Linked DNA regions of Homo sapiens: region 1 is linked to region 2. Evidence: promoter capture Hi-C in 16 types of primary human blood cells and fetal thymus (Javierre and others, 2016). All regions are on one chromosome and are shown on one strand. Each heading gives the region's core, a stretch centred on a gene start or on the middle of the fragment in contact. The rest is flanking DNA. Distances are from core to core; before and after follow the strand shown.

What was found. Contacts are between HindIII fragments. The CHiCAGO score rates a contact against its expected background, and 5 or more counts as called.
Region 1: a contact is called between a fragment that was not itself captured here and the fragment with the promoter of CD9 in region 2, in 1 of 17 cell types (monocytes). The highest score is 5.5, in monocytes.

Annotation. Positions count from the first base shown.
Region 1 is chr12:6,254,339-6,258,922 of GRCh38, reverse strand. All of the region lies in intron 2 of LOC105369625 (a long non-coding RNA gene), which reads left to right. Among named protein-coding and RNA genes, the nearest start is that of PLEKHG6, 54 kb to the left of the region's middle. The HindIII fragment of the contact is 6,294 bases long and covers 1-4,584 here.
Region 2 is chr12:6,198,638-6,203,599 of GRCh38, reverse strand. CD9 (CD9 molecule) reads right to left here and starts at 3,200. Exons shown (of 8, transcript NM_001769.4): 1 at 3,035-3,200. The coding sequence starts at 3,100. RefSeq lists enhancers at 653-1,264, 1,265-1,877, 3,104-3,715, 3,716-4,328. The HindIII fragment of the contact is 13,626 bases long and covers 1-4,962 here.

The DNA.
Region 1 (4,584 bases), core at 1,775-4,274, 55 kb before region 2:
CACAACCTATTGCTGATAAGGAGAAAGTTTGAGTGGTCTGGATAGAAGATCAAATCAGCTACATTTCCTTAAACCAAAGCCTAATCCATACAAGGCTCCAACTCTCTTTGATTAAATTCAGTGAGGCTGAGTAAGGTAAGGAAGCTGCAGAAAAGTTAGAAGCTAGCAGAGTTTGGTTCATGAAGTTTAAGGAAATAAGCCATCTCTGTAACCTAAAAATACAACATAAAGTAACAAGTACTGATGTAGAAGCTGCAAGTTATCCAGAAGATCTTGCTAAGATAACTGATGAGGTGGCAACACTAAACAACAGGTTTTAAATGTAAACAAAACAGGTATCTACTGGGAGAAGATGCCATCTAGGACTTTCTTGGCTAGAGAGGAGAAGTCAACACCTGGCTTCAAAACTTCAAAGGAAAGGATGACTCTCTTGCTAAGGGCTAAGGCAGCTGGTGACTTTAAGTTGAAACCAATGCTCATTGACAATTCCTAAAATTACAGGGCCCTTAAGAATTGTGCTAAATCTACTCTGCTGTGCTCTATAAATGGAACAATGAATCCTGGATAACAGCATGTCTGTTAACCATTATACTATGGTTTACTGAACATTTTAAGCCTTCTGTTGAGACCTACTGCTTAGAAAAAAATATTTATTTCAAAATATTATTGCTCATGGACAGGCACTTTGTCACCCAAGAGATGTGATGAAGACATACAAGGAGATTAATGCTGTTTTCATGCCTGCTAACACATTGATTCTGCAGCCCATGGATCAAGGAGTAATTTTGACTTTGAAGTCTTATTATTTAAGAAATACATCTTACAAAGCTATAGCTGCCATAGATAGTGATTTCTGTGATGAATCTGGGCAAAGTAAACTGAAAACCTTCTGGAAAGGATTCACCATCCTAGATGCCATTAAGAACATTCGTGATTCATGGGGGGAGGTCAAAATAGCAACATTAACAGAAGTTTGGAAGAAGTTGACTCCAACCCTCATAGATGTCTTTGAGGGGTTCGAGACTTCAGTGGAGGAAGAAACTGTAGATGTATTGGAAATAGCAAGAGAACTAGAATTAGAAGTGAAGCCTGAATATGTGACTGAATTGCTGCAATCTCATGAGAAAACTTTAATATTAATATTTAGTAAACCATTCAAAGTAATGGCAAAACCACAATTACTTTTGCACTAAACTAATAGATGAGGAGTTGCTTCCTATGGATGAGCAAAGAAAGTGGTTTCTTGAGACGGAATCTACTTCTGTGAAAATGACAACAAAGAATTTAGCATATGACACAAACTTAGTTGATAAAACAGTGGCAGGGTTTGAAAGGACTGACTCCAATTTTGAAAGAAGTTCTATTATGGGTAAAATGCTACCAAATACCATTGCAGGCTACAAAGAAATATTTTATGAAAGGAAGAGTCAATCAATGCAGAAAACTTCATGTTGCCTTATTTGAAGAAATTGCCATAGCCACCCCAAACTTCAGCAACCATCATTCCGGTCAGTCAGCAGCCATCCATTAAGGCAGAAAGATATGACTTGCTGAAGGATCAGATGATTGTTAGCATAATTTTTTTTAGCAATAAAGTATTTTTAAATTAAGATATGTACATATTTTTTAGACATAATGCCATTGCACATTTAATAGACTACTGTGTAGTATAAACATAATTTTTATATGCACTGGGAAACCAAAACTTTGTGTGACTCACTTTATTGCAATATTTATTTTAATGCAGTGATCTGGAACCGAACCTGCAATGTTCTCTGAGGTATGCCTGTACGCTGAAATAGTTTAAATGTTCTTGTTTATTTTCCTTTTTTCCTTCTTCATTTTTTTTTTTTTTTGAGACGGAGTTTTGCTCTTGTTGCCCAGGCTGGAGTACAATGGCGCGATCTCGGCTCACCGCAACCTCCAGCTCCTGGGTTTAAGCAATTCTTCTGCCTCAGCCTCCCGAGTAGCTGAGATTACAGGCATGCACCACCACACCCGGCTACTTTTGTGTTTTTAGTAGAGACGGAGTTTCTCCATGTTGGTCAGGCTGGTCTCAAACTCCCGACCTCAGGTGATCTGACCGCCTTGGCCTCCCAAAGTGCTGGGATTACAAGCGTGAGCCACTGCGCCTGGCCCTTGTTTATTTTCTTATTGTCTGTTTCCCCCCAATAAAAACATGTTCACAGGCCAGTCTTTTGTTTTGTTCACTCCTGTATCTTCAGTACCTTAGAACAGTGCTTGGCACAGAGTGAGCCCTCAGTAACTATTTTTTTTGTTTGTTTTTTGAGACAGAGTTTCACTCTATCACCCAGGCTGGAATGCAATGGCGCGATCACCGCTCACTGCAACCTCCACCTCCCGGGTTCAAGCGATTCTCCTACCCCAGCCTCCCTAGTAGCTGAGATTACAGGCGCCCACCACCACACCCAGCTAATTTTTTTGTACTTTTAGTAGAGACGGGGTTTCGCCATGTTGGCCAGGCTGGTCTTGAACTCCTGACCTCATGCGATCCGTCCACCTTGGTCTCCCAAAGTGCTGGGATTATAGGCGTGAGCCACCGCACCTGGCCAGTAACTATTTATTAAACAAATCAAGTAATGGATTGTTATTATTATTATTATTATTATTATTATTATTATTATTATTTGAGATGAAGTCTTGCTCTTGTCCCCCAGGCTGGAGTGCAGTGGCACGATCTTGGCTCACTGCAACCTCGGCCTCCCGGGTTCAAGCGATTCTCCTGCCTCAGCCTCCTGAATAGCTGGGATTACAGACGCCTGCCACCAAGCCCAGCTAATTTTTGTAGTTTTAGTAGAGACAGAGTTTCACCATGTTGGCCAGGCTGGTCTAGAACTCCTGATCTCAGGTGATCCACCAGCCTTGGCCTCCCAAAGTGCTAGGATTATAGGCGTGAGCCACCGCACCCAGCCCAAGTAATAGATTATTATGCCCTATGTAATCTAAATCAGATAAAGGGGAAGTGACATCAGGAGGATGTGAGAGACAAGGAGAAGGTGGTAAGGTCAGTGGATGAGAGGTTTTGGGTAGGGTAGGACTGGAGTGAGTTCGAATGACAGAAAGGGATTGGAGACTGTGATGCTTGGATTGAGCTAATGAAGGGTCTCTTTTTTCTACTTTATTGGCTACTTCATCTCAGTCTTCATTGCTGGTTTCTCCTCAACATTTAAAAAATTTAAAAAGTTTAAATGTAGAGATGGGGTCTCAAACCCCTGGGTTCAAGTGGCCCTCCTGCCTCAGCCTCCTGAGGGTCTGGGACTACAGGTGCACCTTTGTAGTGTACACCAGTGCACCTGGCTCCCATCAACATCTCAATCTCTAAAACTGGAGTGAAGTAGTAAAAAAAAAAGTCTGGGACAGTGTTTTTCAAATTGAGAGACACAGCCCATTAGTGGATCATAAAATTAAGTTAGTGGGTTAAAACCAGCATCTATAAAAATGAAATAGAATAGAATAGAATAGAAAATAGCAGAGCACATTGCATGCAGCAAGGATATGTATCATATCATAAAACTTTCATTTCAATTTTATATATGTAGATGTGGATTTTTTGTTTTTGTTTTTGTTTGTTTGTTTTGTTTTTTGGAAATGGAGTCTTGCTCTGTCGTTCAGGCTGGAGTGCAGTGGCACGATCTCAGCTTACTGCAGCCTCCGCTTCCCAGGTTCAAGCGATTCTCTTGCCTCAGCCTCCCGAGTAGCTGCGACTACAGGCACCCGCCACCACGCCCGGCTAATATTTTTGTATTTTTAGTAGAGACAGGGTTTCACTGTGTTAGCCAGGATGGTCTCGATCTCCTGACCTCATGATCCACCCACCTCAGCCTCCTAAAGTGCTGGGATTATAGGCATGAACCACCGTGCCCAGCCAGATGTGTGTATTTCTATATGGTGCCTGTGTGTACTGAGTCACACATATGGTTGGGTCATGGACAAACAAGTTTGAAAGCCTTTGGCCACAGGAGTGAGTGAGGAGGTCAAAAAACTGAGAGGCCAGGTCATTGGAAAGATTTTATCGTAAATCCTGAAATTACCAAGACTTTCTAGGGGTAGTGCTCAAATACAGAAATTTTACCGGGCTTGAAAATCTTCAAGACATGTCCCAGTGAGTCTGTAGATGGTTGCAACGGCCGGTGCTTAGTCCTTTCTCCAAGATCTCTAATTGTACCCTTTCCTGCCCATTCCTGGACTTTGGCCTGCTGCCAGCTCTTTCCTCACTAGTGCACCCCAAACTGCCTTAGTAGCCTGAGCAACCCGCCTCCAACACTCTGGGTCCAGCCCCAGTGCCGAGTTTCCTCATTCATACCTCCTGCTGTCTCCAAGGGCACCTCGTGATCATAGCAGCATAATGACAAGGCTGGCCATCATTTACCGGGTCTCTCCATATGCTCTGTTTGGTAGGAATTGCCCCTCATTTTATTTTATTTATTTATTTATTTTTTGAGATGGAGTTTCGCTCTTGTCGCCCAGGCTGGAGTGCAATGGCACAATCTTGGCTCACTGCAACCTCCGCCTCCCAGGTTCAAGTGATTCTCCTGCCTCAGCCTCCCAAGAAGCTGTGATTAC
Region 2 (4,962 bases), core at 1,951-4,450:
GTTTGGCTGTGGCCATCAGGGAGTGACCCACAGGGATGAGATCAGGCCAGGGAAGAGGCACAGCCCCCCAATAACCATCCTACTCCACTGAGGTTGGCCTCTCTCTGGATGCCTGTTGGACACCCCCTCTCAGCAGCCTCTGTGCAAAGTGCTGCTGGGCACTGGCCTCACAATTCCTGCTTTTCAAGGCCCACATCAGGTTCCGAATGCCAAGTTTATAAATGTCTGGTCTCAAGAGAGAAACGGACGTGGTGACAACATAATCACCCAAGCAGTTCCCTTAGGTTACACCTTTCCTTAAGGGAGTCTTGGGAGCTTCTTCCCACCCTTCTCCCATTCCCACTCAGCAGCCAAAACCAGTTGGGTAAAGTAACCTAGTTCTGAGACCACCCTGCCGCATCACCTTGGATAAGTCACCTAACCTCTCTGGGAAATGGTTTCCTGATCATCAGTACAGTGGGGACAATGCTTCCTGCTCTTGGCTACATCATGGGACTAGAACAAGAAAGGCTCTAAAGACTAACACTCTGCACAAGTGGACCGACCACAGTCTTCCTTTTCATTACATCATCTCCTAGGGATGAGGGCTTCATCTCCACAGGGACCCAGATACAGGACAAATGAACAGTAATTCAGGAAAACATAGCTACTGCCCATCTTCCTGCCTCTGATGAAGATGGAAGAGGACAGAAGTAAAGTAGGGGCCCCAGGAATTGTAATACTGGCTCTGTCTCTGCGATCCTGGGTAAATCACCCCATCTCTCTTCCTCTGCTGCCTCACTATGAATAAGAGAGCTGGACTGCATGATCTTCAAAAGTCATTCCAAACATTTCCAGTGTGAGTGATTTCTGTTTCAGACTACATAGGTCATCAGCTGCACCTAGGCTGGGGCCAGGCATAGGGGGTTCTGAATACGAGTGGGGTGGCAGGCTGAGGACAGTACGGACAGATTGCAGGCCAGCAGGCCACAGACAGAGTAGATACCAGTGGCCCTGTGAGCCTCGCATCAGCTTCCTGCATATGCCATGGGGCAGATGGGGGTAGGGAGGCACACTGTGGCAGTCTGTGTTTCCCTGCAGTCCCAAACCTGGATGCAGTCTAGGCAGACAGCTGAGGACTAACCAACACACCAGCCGGGAGAGACTGTACCTGGGAGGGGAGAGGAAAACTCCCAAAGTTCAAGGGTGGGTGAGGCCAGCTGCCTTCCCGCATACTTTTCTGCTGCCAGGGATTGGTGAAAGAAAGAAGCTAAGCGTGGCAGCTGGGTGGTTGCTGGGGTGGGTGGCAACACAGGAGGAGGGGTGCCCACGGCCAGCAGGGTCTTTTTAAAGCAAGTCAAGGGTTGGGAAGGAGCACACCTATATGCCGTCCTCACTGGGGTGTGTGTTATGGTGACTGATGCACTGGGGGAAGTCAGTCTCTGCAAATTGGAAAAACTGTTCAACCACCCCTTCAGCTCTGGGGAGGAGTGAATCTTAGAAGATTTCCCTAAGGAGGCTTGTGGGGACCTCAGTGACCAGCTCCAGGGGGAATAAGTGCATTTGTTTCTTTTCTACTTTTTTTGAGACAGGGCTCACTAGGTCACCCAGGCTAAGTGCAGTGGTGCAATCATGACTCACCGCAGCCTTGACCTCCCAGGCTCATGCCATCCTCTCATCTCAGCCTCCTGAGTAGCTGCGATCACAGGTGCATGCCAACACGCCCAGCTAATTTTTTATTTTTTTGTGGAGATGGGGGTCTCACTATGTTACCCAGGCTGGTCTTGAACCTGGATGAAAGCGATCCTCCTGCCTCAGCCTCCCAAAGTGCTGGGATTACAGGCATGAGCCACTGTGCCTGGCCAAGTGCACTTTTTTGTTACAAGACTCTGGTGGCATGCACCTGTTTCTACATCCATCTATCTTGAGAGTGGCATAGAGACTCTCTTCCTGCCTGCAGAGCGGCAAGTATTGTCATGTGTGTGCAGGGAATGTGGCTATAGAAACAAGGACACAAGGGTTTCCTATTCCTTGCTTCTGTCGCCTCTCAGCCTTCCCATTTGTAGAGGCTGAGTGGCCTGCAGCAGGTGTCTCTGGAGCTCCTGGCCCCGCTGGCCTCTCCAGATGAACGTCCGCTCTGCGCCCTGCCTGGCCTTGGGTGGGCCGCCTGGGCTGGCGGGGAGGGGAGAGGGCAAGGCCAAGGCTCTCCTGGGCGGGCAGCTGGCTGGCACCTGATCTCTCCCGGAAATGCACACACAGGACTCATCCCACTAGAGGCGCAGATAGGTATCTGCCCCCTCCTCTCCCGAACTCTGAGTTCTCTCCAGTGAAGATACTTATCGTCCTTGAAAGAAATCAAGACAAGCTAGTCTTTCAGGGAGCTACCAGGGAGTTCGGCGCTCTCACGGTGGCTCAGAATCAAAGTCTGAGGGAACGGGGGCCTGCGAGGTTCCTCCTCAAGGGTGGAGGGGCCCCCGACTCTCAGGGACTGGGTCCCGGGGCCGGACCCGCGGCCGAGGCACCCCTGCCGCTCCTGCGTAAAAGTGAGAGCCGCTCTTGGCTGAGCTCTCGCCGTGCCCGCACCCTCCCTTCCTGGCGCCCCCTACTACCTGGGAGACCCCACCCGGTCACAAGCCATACTGCTCACCACAGTCCTCCTTGGCCTTGGCCCAAAGAGGGGTGCTCCGCTTCTCCCTGCCTTCCTCTCTGGCACTCGGAGGGACTTGAGCTGGGAGCAGACACACACCCCAGCTCAAATCCTAGGCGAGCTAAAGTGCTCAGGACCCTCCCGCACGCCTCATCTCAAGAGGGCCCGGCTCCCCACGCCGGCTGGGCGGTGATGAGCCCCCACCCGAATGCGCCCGTCGCGGCCGTCCCGCCCGGCTCTGGACCCGGCCTTGGAGCCAGCTGGCAGCCGCAGGGCGCTCTCTCTTCCCGCCCGGTGCCTGCCCGGTGCGGGCAGTGCCAGCTGCCGGCACTCGCGGCCGCGGCCAGTGTCCGGGGCCCGCGAACAGGTGGGCCCTGAGAGGAGCGCGCGGCAGTCGCGCTCACTCACCCAGAAGATGAAGTTAAATCCGAACAGCAGGTATTTGATGCACTTGGTGCCTCCTTTGACCGGCATGGTGAGGGCTAACTTAGCCTGGGCCGAACGGGTGCGGGACTGGGGGGCGCGCGCAGCTGGGACTGGCGGGACCTGGCGCTGGATACAGATGCAGGCGGCTGTAGGCTGGTCTCCGGCTGCACTTTTAAAAAGTGCCACTCCTTAGGGCGCGCGACCCGCTGCGGTGCGCATGTGCCGGGAAAAGCCGCCCCCACTCCCCCCGCCGGCCACGCCTCCCGCCCCACCGGCCCCGCCCGGGCCGCACCCCCCCCGCCCCCCGCCCCCGCCCAGGTCGGCGAGCCCCGGCCCCAGCTGCCCCGCGGAGCCCGACCCTCTCCCTGTTTCCCCGCCTAGTCGCCCTAACCCCCACCCGCCACCCACTCCTTCTTCAAGCCGTCTTGGGGTCTTTGCAGGCAGCCACTCCCTGCCACTTTTACCGCGGACTTACGTGGAGGCCTCGCCCTTCCGGTTCCCCCGCGTTTGGTCTGGGCGCCGGACCGGGCGTTCTGCTTTGGGAGACTCTTCCCCGGGTCGTCAGGGCTAAAGGCCCCTTGGCCAAGGCCTGCTGCCAGAGTGAGGGGCCCTTCTGCTTTGCGAGGATTTAAAGGGAAGCCGCCTGGCTTAATTTCGCCCTCGTCTGTCTCCTTGCAAACCTTCGCTCGCTGACCATACTTTTCATTGGGCACAGCATGTGGGGTAGGAGGAATTAGAAGCGCGCAGTCTGGGTGGGATGACAGATGGGAGGCTTTTGGAAGTAATTAGCAAATACCTATCACCGAATAATAACACAGCTGAGGGCTGGGCAGTCCCCAAGCGCTTCCTGCACTTGAGGTTTAGTTGCCCCAGAGGGAAAAAGGGTCTGTAGACGGCTTCTGTTTTCTCTCTACTCCTCCACCCCACCCTCCCTCCTGCGTCTTTGGACTTGCTCGCTGCTGCCTTGAACTGCTCCAGATGCCGAGCTCGGAGCGCTTCTCCTGAGCTCACAAACTTTCTGTAGCTCTCCAGATTCAAGGACCTAAGTCGAAATTCCTCGTCTTGCCCTCAAGGCCCTGTACAGAGCACTGATCTGACTTCTCCCGGACCCAGAGCCCACCCCACTCGCTGGCCGGCATGCGCCCTGGCTGGCTGGCCCCCCCCCAACGTCACTTGTAGGAATTCTGTGGGTCTTTAAACACTCCTTTCCTGATTCTCTGGAGTGGACGAGGAGAGTCACCTTCTTTTGAAGTCCCCGAATCCCTTTGTATTATTTTCAAAATGAAGTTTCCTTTACTGTCCTTTATGATTACAAAAGCAAGATACAGTCATTACAGAAACAACCGAAATACCAAGAAGTGAAAGGAACAGACCTCAAAATTCTGCTCACCAGAAACAGCCACTGTTAGCACATTGCTGTTATTTGCCTGTTTATTATCAGTAGACTTGTCTCATTGGTTCAAAAACATTTTTCAGTATCTATTAGGGTATTTCATTAGGGGTAGGAGCTGAAAAACATGGATTAGTCCTTGTTTCTGCTCAGGGACCAGTGTGGGAGGAGACAGGCAGCCAGACAATGGTTTGAGGGTGATAGGTGCAGTTACGGGGAGAGGCTTGGGGGCTAAGAGGCTAAGGAGAGGCCTCTGACCCAGACTGGGAGATGATGCTGCAGAACCACAGGGAAAGTTGCCGCCAAGGGAGAATCCTGGGCAAAGGCTGGGGCAGGGGCTGTCCGGGCTCTGGGCTGGAGCCTGGAGTCACGGGGTAGTTTGTGGGAAGGTGAGAAAGAGCCTTGTGCTCCTGGACTTTGCACTCTGAGCATTAGGGGCCACCGAAAGGTTCAAGCAGGGGAATGGTTGGATCTGCTGTGTTTTCAGAGGTTCTCTGCCTGTGTTTTAGGTAGTTGGGTG